Regions from separate parts of the Homo sapiens genome. Here all the other regions are linked to region 1. The links are contacts of gene promoters, found by promoter capture Hi-C in blood cells and fetal thymus (Javierre and others, 2016). All regions are on one chromosome and are shown on one strand. Each heading gives the region's core, a stretch centred on a gene start or on the middle of the fragment in contact. The rest is flanking DNA. Distances are from core to core; before and after follow the strand shown.

Region 1 (4,049 bases), core at 1,536-4,035:
AGGTGAGGAATCACAAGTGGTGGGTGACTGAGAATTCTGTTACCTGGGATAGGATCGGGGATATTGGAAATGCCACCCATAGGCACGATGGCTTACATACTTCGTGGGACCCAGTGAAAGTGAAAATGAAGGCCTCTTGTTCAAAAAGCATTAGAATTTCAAGATGGTGATAGCACAGCCTTGAGCCAGGTGTCCAGAGCCCTCTTAAGCACAGGGCCCTGTCTGACTCCATGGGTCATACACCCACAATTCCGGCTCTGCCGGAACAGAAATGGGGGCAGGTAAGAAGGCAATGGAGGCCTTCTCAGCCCCAGCCCCTCCAGCCTCAGCTTGACAAGTCTCTAGAGAGCACCAGCTGTGGATGAGGTTCTGTGCGAGATGGTAGGGACACAGGAAGAGACAAGGTCCCTGGCCCCAAGAGAGGAGGCAAGTGTGCACGTAAGTGAGCTACCAAATGAACACAAGGTAGCTGGATGCAGGCCAGCTGATGTGCATTAAGCTCACACTTAAGCGCCAGGCACATTCTATGTGATTAGCTCCACTACCCGCTTAGCAACGCTTTGAGGCAGGCACTGTTAGCATCATTCTCATCTGAAAGGTAAGGAAACCGAGATGCAGAGAGGTCAAACACTTGCTGGAGATAATAGAGCCTACTATGTAGTACCACCAAGAGGTGCAGCAGGCACTACGCTCCAGAGGCACTGCTATTCCTCCTCCCCCACCTTGCTATCCACCGAGGCCCCCATGTTCATAGTCTCTGCAGATAGTCCTGAGAGTGGAATGGCGGACTGGGGTGCAGGAAGGATCCTGCAAGACCTCACAGTAGAGATGTCATGCGCACTGTGTGGGAAGAATGAATGCAAGTGCTCCAGGTCCACAGTGGGAGGAAAGGCATTCTGGGCAGTGGGAAGTAGAAGTAGCCTCATGTGGCTGGAGCCAGAAGCTAAAGTGGGAGTGCCAGAAGGAGGGCAGAAGCCATAGACCCTTGTGCACATACTGGAAGAGCTGCTTTTTTAACAGTCAAGTGCACAAGGGTCTATGCGGTGTTAAGATCACGATGGGAACATGCTGGTGGGCTAGGAAACTCAAGAGGTTAGTTCCAGAAGAGTCTGTGGAATTCTGCCCCACAGGCTCCGGAGGCATGGGGGGAAGGCCATAGAAGAGCTGTCGTGGGTAAGGAAGATTCCTGCAGCCGTGAAATAGCAAGCAAGCTAGGGAAGAACTCTAACAGGAGGCAGAAATGGAAGGGAAAGCACCATGCGGGGAGAGAAGTGTAGAGGCAGGCATCGGGGGAGCTAGGGGAGCCAGGCCCTGGGGGTTGGAGGGGAGGCGGCCGGTGGCAATGAAGGCCTTCGCCCACCCCTCTTCCGCCCCCTGGCAAGGCAGGTTGCTAATACCCGCCCTGGGATAGGGGTGGGAGTGGTTCTGGAACCGCCTTCTGAGACTCATTCCCATCAAAAGCAACACTTGGGGTGGAGGGAGGAAGAGGACGCCAACCCCAGTGCCTGGCCGGGTTCTAGATGTGCAGAGAACAAAAAGGAACCCTAAAAACCCAGCATCCCCTTCTCCGAGGGAGGCTTTCCTAGACCCAGAACCTCAGCCCACCCGGAACCCCTTTGCCCCTCTCTTAGCAGTGGACCTGTCATGTGGTTCCTCCTGGACTAGTGTAATCTCTGCTATGCGTCTTGTCCTGCCATGCTGAACTTCTCACAGTGCGGCCTCCGAAGGAGCCCCCATCTAGCGCTCCTTGCAGTCGCAGAAGATTCCTTCTCCCCTTACTGAGCCTTAGAGTTTTCCAAACCCATTTCCTCCTTCAAATCGCTGCAGCCTCGCGAGGGAGGCAGAATTCTCCCCATTTCTCGGACTTTGCAGGAGAGAAGCCTGCCTTCCCGGGGCAGGGTGGGGGTAGGTAAGTGAAGAAGCCAAGGTCACCCAGTCATTGGCGGAACGCGGCCTCGACTCGGTCCTTCTTCTGAGGGCCCTGTGGATCCCTGGCAAGGCAGGCCTAGGTTGCAGGCTAGCCCCCCTCTCTTTTCGTTGGCCCCAGGAGCCCGGCGGGCCTGAATGGCAGGTGAGCCCGGGGGGTGGGGACAGGACGCGGGTTGGGCTGCGCAGGGACGCCTGGCGCGCGGGCCTTGGGAGCGGCCGCCGGAGCTCCCTGCTACGCCGTATCTTCCGAGGGCCCACGCCTTGGGTCACGACTGGACCAGGGCTTTGACCAAGGGTCCTCTGTGTGCCCCAGGCCCGCCAGTCAGGCCCCGCCCCCCGGCGGCACGGGCGGGGGCAGGGGCGGCGCCGGCAGAGTGGGGCGCGGGCGCGCGGTGCTCGGTGCGCGCCGCCGCCCCTCCGGCCCGGCTTGCCCGCCCGCTCTCCCAACCCCCTCGGCCCACTCCGTCGCCCCCACCCCTCCTTCCTCCACTCGGCCAGGCGGCCGGCGGCCCGGTGCGCGGGGCAGCGCGACGATTGCGGCCTGGCGATCGGGGCACTGCGGTCGTGGCGCGCGAGGCGCGGGGCGCGAGGCCAGCCCTGGAACGGCGGGGTGTGGGGGGCGGGCAGCTGCGGAGCCCCCAGAGGAAAGCAGGGGCAGGCAGGGGGGTGCCGAGGTAATGGGCCGGGCCTGGGCGCCCGGCTGCGAGGGGCGGGGGTTCCAGGCGCACTTCGGCCCTGGAGGGGCGGGCGACAGGGTGCCCGGGGCGGTGGGAGGGCAGCGGGGAGGGGAGGAAGGGAGGGAGGAGACGGCTGGGCCGGACCGGGGGGCTTGGCCGACGGGGAGCAGGTGGGCGGGGACAGGGCCCCTGCTGGAAGAGGCGCAGCAGCGAGGTGGCGGGCTGCGTGCGCAAACAGGGCGGCCGCCTTCTGGGCCCGGAGAACGGTGAGGCCATTTGGGTTGGGTGTCCCAGTCCCGAGGGCACGGTTCGGTATCCAGGGCCAACGAGCTGGGTGCAGGGCATTGTTGAGGAGGGAAGATCTAGAGGCCTGTCCGGGCCAAGGGGATGGGGCGTATTGAACAGCTCCGGGAGAAGAGTGTTGCTGGGTCAGGGCGCTGGTGTCCAGCGAAGGTGGGCGAGGACAGGCACTTTCAGGGCTGGCCTGAGTGGAAAGGGACAAGGGGGCCCCAGAGTTTGAGTTTGAGCATAATTTGGGAGTTGTCGTGTCACTGGGTGGGTCGATGAGTCATGCGATTTGGAGAACCCTTTCCTGGCGATCAGTTCTGAGGGATGGAAATAAAGTCTAGGGTTTGGAGAAGTGGTTTGGAGGCCATGTCTTGGGACACCAGGTGCTCTGGTGGTCACCAGGCTTCATGTGAGGGACTTTGGGAGTTGTGTCCCAGAGGCCTGAGATTCAGAAGCTTCAGTCTGGGGTGGAGTTAAGCAAGGTCTTTGTGGTGGCCAGTTCCCTGCCTTCCTTCCTTTCCAGGCTGTCAGGATTCAGCTGTGTTCCTGCGGGGAGTGGGTTAAAAATTCCTTCCGCCTACAGTCAGCTTTACAGTATCCACCAGGGGCATGGGGGACATATACATGTGTGGCTGCAGCATCATTCTTTGTCGTGGAGCCCTCACGATTGCTTCCTTATTGTTGCCATAGTAACTGTCTACTGATGGTGTATTTATAGGGGAAGAAGCAGGCGCTACATTTTGGGGAGGGAGGGGGAAGAGGCCTCGTGGCAGGCAGCAGCAGCAGTGAAGGTGGCTACAGAATTGCTAATGGAGTGGGCCATGCCATGGGAACTGTTTTGGGGGTGTTCCTGGCTCGACTGAAGCTTAAAAATGAACTGGTGACTTTAGCAGGTGCGTCAGGATAACATGTATTCGGGTCTATGATAGGTGTGACATATAGCCACCTTTGACCAAGGCTAGGTGTGTGGGGGACAAAAGATGGATATATGTAATCTATTATGTAAATTTTTCTCCATTTTTTTAAAAAACCACTGCAGTTTCCTTTGATAAGCATATTTTTCTCTCTTCCCTTATTAAGACTATATGCATTCTTCTCAAACCCAGATACAACAGCTCCATTTTTCTTCAAGCAAAAAATCCTTGCCATGAGGCA
Region 2 (4,002 bases), core at 214-2,713, 520 kb before region 1:
CTCCCGGCCAGTGCAACCCCTCTCCCCTACTGTGGCAAGAAGACTAGTCTGGAACAAGTTTCAAGGTGTTTACTGAGATTTTGAAAGGCTTCTCGACAGGAGCCGTAACTTTTAGTAGCCGGCAGAAATCCATTCCCGTGACCAAGGTTATTGAGGGAACGAGTGTCCGAATCACGCCCCTTTAGTTTTGCCCGAATATTCGAATTTTCCGTGGTCCCCGCGGAGCGAGATCCTGGGCGCACCGCAGGGGAACTGTGACGCACGGGGACAGAGATCCGCGGTGTGGAGGGCGAGGGGGGAGGCCTGAGAGGGATGGGGTCGAAACGAGAACCCCAGAAGGGCATGGGAAAGGAGAAAGACCGAGAGGAATCCTGACTGAGGCAGGGATCGCCGGTCAGCCAGAGGCTTCTTGGTTTAGCCGCGTGACACCTCCGCACCTTTCCCGCGGCTGCGGCGCAGCTCCTTCAGCCTTCCTGACTGCCCCGTGCCGCTCAGTAGAGAATGCCGAGCATCCCGAGAGGGAGAGGCGTCAGAGCCTCTCGTCCTGAGTTTCCTTGAGAAGCGGGGACCCAAGAGAAGAGCTTTATTGCCTGTTTTACTTTTTCCCAAAGCGTCCCTTGGCTTCCGCCGCCTGGCTGCCGGCAGCTGGAAAGGAGACGAGCTCCCGCTCCCGTTCGCCCCCAAACTGAGGACCGAGTGGCCACCAATGCCTTCCCTAGGTCCCAGGGTGCAGACCCGCTCCCCACTTCCAGAGTCGGGCGCAGGGTACATCTCTTTATGGAGAGTGCAAGACCTGGACCGGACTGAGCGGCTACTCGCAGCTGCCGCTAAGGGAGCCAAGAGGCTCCTGGCGAGAAAGGGAGCGGGGTTAAGTTCCCTAGGGATTAGGGACCCAGATTGGGGGTGGGAGCTCCCAGCAGTAGTCCCCTGTTCCCCGCGGGACACAGAAGGCTCTAGACAGGCAAGGGCATGGGGCGTGGGATGGACCTCACAAGGATACTTGCAGAGGCAAGCATCTAGCGTTCAAGGGGCCACCGGCTATCCCCTATACCCTGCTGGGGGCTGTGGACTGGCTTGGTCTAGCACTGGATCCTATGAAAGACTCTGTGCTCCGGCTCTGCAATCTACATCTCTTTGCCAGGTGTTTGCACTGGAGGAGAGAGGGAGAAGAACTTGCTAGAAACGAATGCACAGGGGCTGGTGGAGGGGGTGTGGGGTGGACTCCGAGCTAGTCATGATGCTTGCAAGGTACCTGGGAGATTGAGAGGCAGGGCAGGCTGGCTAGAGAGGAAGTACATACAAGGCAGTCGGAAGCAAGATGACACCTCAATGTGGATTTGTCCAATAAGAGGGGGTAGCCAAGGGGGGGGTATTCAGGGAGGTCTGATTGGTCGGGGGGAGGGATTTGGGGTGGGGCTAGCCGCCTCTTGAGGCTTTAAAAGCTCATCGGAGAGGGGCGGGATGCTGTCATTTGCTCTCTGACTCTCAGAGAGGGAGGCACGCTTTCCTGGAGCTCCTGGTGACAGAACAGGTGTTTGCTGTCTGGACCTGGCTGCTGATCCTGAGCCTGCTGGGAGATCTTAACGATCCCCAGGAGCAACATGGGGCCCACCCTAGCGGTTCCCACCCCCTATGGCTGTATTGGCTGTAAGCTACCCCAGCCAGAATACCCACCGGCTCTAATCATCTTTATGTTCTGCGCGATGGTTATCACCATCGTTGTAGACCTAATCGGCAACTCCATGGTCATTTTGGCTGTGACGAAGAACAAGAAGCTCCGGAATTCTGGTAAGCCACCCCTTCTTCTCCCTACCCAGTGTGCAGAGACTTGCAACCCCTAGGGCGTTAGTTTTTGAGCTCCCCGAATAGAGAATCTATGGACAGTGCCCTCATATTGAACATCCCTGCTCCCAAATTCCCCGCAAGCCTGGGGGTGGTAGTATTCTGTCCCGGCCCTCTAAACGTGGAGGTTCTCAAGGCCGAGAGAGCACAGAGAATTAGCTTTGGGCATCCAAGTACAAAGCGTTCCCGTGGTGCGCGGCAGCCCGAGGATCCCTGTCCCGTCGGGGCCTGATGCGGAGGGAGCCGGCACCCGAGCGGGAGAGTCAGGCGATTCGCCCGGGGACAGCAAGCCGAGCCGGACGCCGCAAGGGCGGCCGCGCTGAGGCAGCGCGGACCGAACTGACGCGGAGGGAGCAGCGGGGCTGCGACCTGCTCTGTGAAAGTTAAGTTCGCGGCGGCCGCGGCGGCCCTTACCAGAGCGCAACGCAGTGGCCTCTCCCTAGCCGGGCCAAGAGCCCGCTCGCCGCGGCCCTGGGGCTCCAGGACGGCTCCCGGGCAGATCCCGGGCGGCGGAGCACAGACCCCCGCGCCCGAGAATCGAGCAGGGAGGTCTGAGCCCGCCGGAGCCGAGCTCCGTCCGCCCGTCCCAGGGCGAACGGCAGAGAGAGGCAAGCGGCGGGTCGGGCACAGCAGGCGGTGGCAGCGACGGCGGCGGCAGCGGAGATCCCAAGGTCCGTAAGCGGGGAACTGGGGGGTCGCAGGGCGGGCCGGCCAAGAGGCTTGGGAGCTGGGCGTTGCTGGGGGTGGAGGGATAGAAGGCAGCAAAACCGAGTAGGGATTGGCGGGAGGGCGACGGGAGAGCTCAGAGGCGGCGATGGGGGACTCAGAGAGGCTGCAAAGGGCTGGGGTCTGGGAGCCGCAGGCGGGACTTCCCCCGCTGCTAGCCACTGCCGAGCGGGAGGAGGCCGGGGGCCGGGGGCCGGCGGCGAGCAGGGCAGGAGGGAAGCGTGGGAGGATGCCGGGCGCTGCGACCTGTGCTGGGGGTGGGGGCGGCAGACACTGCAGAGCAGCTAGTCCGGCTTACAGGTTGGGCGGGAGAGGGCTCTGGAAGGGAGGGGAAGGGGCAAAGGCGCCCAAACTCCGAGTTCAGGCCGGGGGAGGGAGGGGCGGCGCCTGGAATTTCCACCGCCAGATTCTCGATCGGCTGGGGCTAGGAGTGGGGACCGAAGGGGGTCTGAGAGGGTGGGGAGACCAGCTGGATTCTCCCGGGCAGGGCGTGGGGGAGAGGTGGCGGCCGGGGTCTGGGGGATTACTTTGCTTGGGCAAGGAGTCACGAACACTGAACAAGTTTAAAAACGCACTGACTGGCACACAGTCATTAAAAGTTTTCTTACAAAGTCTGGTGGGTGTCTCCGATTTCTCCTTCGTCTCCTGGAATCGTGGGGCCATACACTAGGTCTTCACCTTCACCCCCGCGGTGCGGTCCCGAGGTGCAAACCCACGGAATCCTGGGGGCGACCTGCGAAGCCCATTTTATTCCCTTTAGATTTCTTTTCTTTCTTTTTCTCCTTCTCCTTCCTTCCTTCTATAATTCAAATAAAGGCTTTTATGGTTGTTGTGGTTTTGTTTTTAAGGCTTTGCCCCTTCTCTTTTCGGCTGTATTTCCCTGAATTCATTACTCTGCCGGAAAACCATAGAAAGAACCTCTTCGGTAGAAAGTGCTGAGGCCGAGTGCTGACAGCGCTGGAGGAAGGAGGAAGAAGGAGCCATACCTTTGCCCTTTTCAAAAGCGCTCATTTTCTCCTAGTCCAAGATGAAGTGCAATATTTTGCCAAACCAATGCTAATTAGCAACGAGGTGTCTCCAAAGAAAGAGGGCTCTGCGCCTGCACCTGGCCTCTTCCTTCTCTTTTTTGTGAAAGGTTTTACAAAAAAGTTCCCACCTCAGCCCTACAAGACCGGAGTGGGGGTGACCCTTCTTCTCTATCCTGTTTAACCTGAAGGCTCCAGTAAAGTTCAGTGCCCGGCGCTGGGAGCTCTGTGCAGGGCGCTGAATGTGCCAGTGCGCGGCTCTGCGCGTGGACGTGGACGCGGCATGTAACTGAAACAGGCACTTCTGCTAATCCTTGCAGGATTTTTTCTCCTCCCCCCCACCCCCGCCCACCTCGCGCCACCCTTCCCGCCCGCCCTCTCACTACTTCTTTGGTCTCAGACTAAATTT
Region 3 (4,113 bases), core at 1,147-3,646, 560 kb before region 1:
AATTCTAGTATTATCCTTACTTTGCAGAAGCCACACTGAAGTTGTTGGTGCTATGCAATACTTGGGTTTCCTTTCAGTGATTAGAGTATATGCCACCCTTTTTGATCTCTTGATATATTTAGTATCTGGATGTCATCCTGATTTATTCTTTTTTTTTTTTCATCCTAATTTCTTCTTTAACTTGGCTTTTGGACCCATGGTTCCTGAACTTCTGCATTGTCTGCATCAACTCCACCTGCTGACAAGCCAGAGAAATATATACAGGCATACTTTGGACATATTGCAGGTTCTGTTCCAGACCATCACAATAAAGCAAGTCACACAAAATTTTTGGTTTCCCAGTGCATATAAAATTTACGTTTATGCTATACCATAGTCTAAAGTGTCCAATAGTATTATGTCTAAAAATGTGCATACCTTAATTAAAAATACTTTAATGCTATAAAAATGCTAACAATCATCTGAGCCTTCAGTGAGTCATAATCTTTTTGCTGGTGGAGGGTCTTGCCTCAATGTTGATGGCTGCTGACTGATCAGGGTGATTGATGGTCACTGAAAGTTGGATGGCTGTGGCAATTTCTTAAAATAACACAACAATGAACTTTGCTGCATCAATGGACTCTTCCTTTCATGCAAGGTTTCTTTGTAGCATGCAATGCTGCTTGATAGCATTTTACCCACCACAGTAAAACTTTTTTCAAAATTGGAGTAAATCCTTTCAAATTCTGCTGCTGCTTTATCAACTAAGTTTATGTAATATTCTAAATCCTGTGTTGTCATTTCAACAATGTTCACAACATCTTTACCAGAAGTAGTTTCCATCTCAATAAACCATTCTTTGCTCATCCATTAGAAGCAATGCCTCATCCATTTAAGTTTTATCATGAGATTGCAGCAATTTGTTACCAAAACAGCAGGGGTTTGGTCTAGGTCCTGTTGCTGGCTGCAGAGAAAGCCAATCACTGAGTTGAGTATTGCCAGGGAAGAAGGATTTATTCAGGTGCTGCAGCTGAGGAGATGGGAGGTCAGTCTCAAATTCATCTCCTCAATTGACTAAAATTAGAGGTTTATATAGCAGGGAAAAAAATGTAACTACATATGGGAAAACAGGAAGAAGGGGTTAAGGAAGAAGAGTTGGTAAACAGGAATCATGATGGATGAGGGGTCTGGCATCTCATTGTTTGGATGTAGTGATGTGGTGAATTTATATTCTTTGAACTATCTGGGAGGCCTGAGGGTTGGTTTCCTGAGGAGGGAACTCAGATAAGACAAATGCAGATTTCAAGCTTTAAGACCAAGAGGGTCAATTTCAAATTTCTATGTTTATCCAAAAGACGGTAAACACCAGTTCTGTGAGACAATTGGCCGGTTTCAGTCCTCTATTTCTACTTATCAGTTCCTCAATCATGGGGAATCTGGTGGTTGATCTTTCTGACTGCTTTATGCTGAGGAAGGGCATTATATGATACTGATGAGGAATGAAAATGTTACCCCTGTAATTGGAAGTATTCATAAGTACCTGGTCAGCATCTGACTTGTTGGAACACCAGGACCTGGATACTTTAATGGTTTTAGAACAACATTTTAAGTCACATTGACTAGGATGATTAATAACATGGATAACCTAAATTTTAAAACACCAAAGGATATGGAGTGGATCCCTTGGGGAATCCAATAAAATAATCGCGAAAGCTACATGTTCCCTTTATGATTTTTTAACTAGGGTCTTTCACTGGACTTTAGATATTAAGGCCATCTGAGGGTTCACAAGACCATGACTGATTCCCTGGGAGAGATTCCAGAGGGACTGGTTTTACCCGAGTATAGTGAATCCACGACTTAGCACCAGCTAACTTGACAGATGAGTGAGTGATCAGCAGCACCTCCAAAGGGCTGACCCATTGTGGTTGCAGCTCATCTACAGCTTGGTGGGATTTCCAGGTCTTCAGCAGGACTTGGGATCTCCCAGTTTCAAAAAGTGGAGAGGTACATCTCTAGGGAACTGAAGCCTGTTGGAAGCAAACTTAGAGACTAGTTAATATATTTCCTAATTGTTTTATATATGACCTAGCTTCTGTGTCAGAGGAGGAAAAATACTAAAGTGTCAAGGAGTCTGGAGGTTAGAGAAATGGTCTTCCATACATTTTGGAGGCTCTAAAAGCCAATCCACTTTTAGGGGCTACCCACATCCTCAGCAGGGCAAGGGACAAGACCTTTTCCCAGTTAAGATTTATCTCTTGGCAACTGGGGTCCCCTTGGCCACAAGTGGGCCTACTCAGTCAATGGGGGGCTTAGGAATTTATTTTGTCCCATAGTGTTGCCAAGGTGGTGTGGCTACATGTTTTAGGTCCATCTCATCCCTCAGTGGGACCTCTATAGCCAAGGGACATAGAGTCAAAAGACTAACAGCCAATTAAACACTGTAGACCAGACAAGAATGGAGGGGGGCAGGCACTCATTAACACTTAAAACCCTTTAAGCAACATAATAGCCAAAAACTAAAAGCCAAAAAGTAAGGTTACAGAATTGCTTATGAATCAAAGGAATTTCCTTTGCCATTTAAGAATGGAAGCCCAGTTCCCTGCACCCCTGCCCGCCAAGCTGAGTTGTATGTTCAGCATCGGCCTAGAACAGTGAGATCTTTTGAAGGTTACATAAGGACACATACAACCACCACAAAAGAACATACATAACTAATTTTATTTGTCAAAATTGGCCCTTACAATCTCATGTGCCTGCCCCCCTTCTGCAATAGTTCCTGGGCCTAGATGGATTGGATAGTTTTAATTCCTGGCCCTGTGTCTCATGAAAGCAGTTCATTTTGATTGCTGCCTTCTCCTGGGTCTAAAGATGAGGCTTTGACTGGTGTCAATGTTCAAGATTTAGCAGGTATCGGCACCTTTTTCAGACCCAGGAGTCAAGACCCTGTAACTTAACAGCACAAGGATTAGTTAATAGGATGCTTATCAAAGAAATTAAAAGACTTGAAACGTTTTATTAAAACAGAATCACAGGTCATTGTAAAATAACAGTTATTCATTTAACCAAAAGTGATCATCAAAAGGCTTTAAAAGCAATATAGAAATAAAATTACAATAAAGGGGCACTCTACCCATAATATGCAGACAGACTACTTTGCTGTAAAATAAGTTTCTATCTACAATATAAATGATCGAGTATAATATATGCATTTATGCTAAAAACAGAAGCCAATGTTTAATGAAACATTTAAAGACATAAAAAAAGAACATTTAGAAATTAGTGCTTCAGTTTACTAATACTGCAGAAAGTCCTATTATTCTCTCTAACATGTCACAAATTAAAACACTGTGATTTGGTCTCCAGTAGTTACTGCCTGCAGCACTTCAAACCACTGCCCCAGAAATACACTGACTACAGAGGAGGAGACAGCCCCTGCAGGAGTTAAAGATGCCAAGGACAGAATAACTGTGCTAGAATGTGCTAATGCCACAGGCACACATAACTGTCAGCTTACTGTGGTAGGCAAAAGCTTGCATTTTTGTTGTTTTCAAGGAGTGAATTTCTTTTAAGTCCATTATTATGCTAACAATAAGGCATGGATCGCTAGCGATGCCTTTTCTGATTGGTTTCACAATTTGTACCAGCAGCTTGTGCTCACTTCAGGGAAGCTGGACTGGGTGACCATTGCAAGATTTAGTTATTCCTTGACAATTGTTTTGCTCGTTCCTCAGCTGAAATTCTCATTAAAAATAATGTTTATACCATGTATTTCCCCCAAATGTGACTCTATTAACTCAGCCATGTGACTGGGGTATCCTTAACTCACTGAAGAGTAAATATTTAAAAAAAAAACTTTATCGAACAGCATGCTAGTAGCAATGAAGAAAGGTATGGGTGTGGAAGGTTTTTAAAAGGAGTTGGGCATAAATGATACCATATATACTGTTACTAATGCTTGGAAAACAGTGACTAAGGACACAGCCGTGCATGCCTGGCACAACCTCTGGCCTGTGATTATGCTCAGTAATGATGAACAATCCAGTTTTTCATTCATTAACCAGTGGTGGAAGAGTCAACATGATCCTGAATAAAGGTGATATGATCATAGCAATGATGAAGATGACATTATTA

The links. The method cuts DNA at HindIII sites, captures the fragments that hold promoters and counts their contacts. A CHiCAGO score of 5 or more calls a contact.
Region 2: a contact is called between the fragment with the promoter of GPR50 here and the fragment with the promoter of PRRG3 in region 1, in 7 of 17 cell types (M1 macrophages, M2 macrophages, naive CD8 T cells and 4 more). The highest score is 7.9, in M1 macrophages.
Region 3: a contact is called between a fragment that was not itself captured here and the fragment with the promoter of PRRG3 in region 1, in 3 of 17 cell types (M0 macrophages, M1 macrophages and M2 macrophages). The highest score is 7.4, in M0 macrophages.

What each region holds. Positions count from the first base shown.
Region 1 is chrX:151,692,673-151,696,721 of GRCh38, forward strand. It overlaps PRRG3 (proline rich and Gla domain 3), which reads left to right and starts at 2,786. Exons shown (of 4, transcript NM_001372163.1): 1 at 2,786-2,872. The HindIII fragment of the contact is 4,373 bases long and covers 1-3,347 here.
Region 2 is chrX:151,175,121-151,179,122 of GRCh38, forward strand. GPR50 (G protein-coupled receptor 50) reads left to right here and starts at 1,464. Exons shown (of 2, transcript NM_004224.3): 1 at 1,464-1,788. The coding sequence starts at 1,602. It overlaps GPR50-AS1 (GPR50 antisense RNA 1), which reads right to left and starts at 2,716. Exons shown (of 3, transcript NR_135300.1): 1 at 2,257-2,716; 2 at 1,675-1,755; 3 at 78-1,150. RefSeq lists enhancers at 1-128, 129-1,097. The HindIII fragment of the contact is 16,411 bases long and covers 1-4,002 here.
Region 3 is chrX:151,128,737-151,132,849 of GRCh38, forward strand. No RefSeq gene overlaps it. Among named protein-coding and RNA genes, the nearest start is that of MIR4330, 37 kb to the right of the region's middle. The HindIII fragment of the contact is 2,225 bases long and covers 1,285-3,509 here.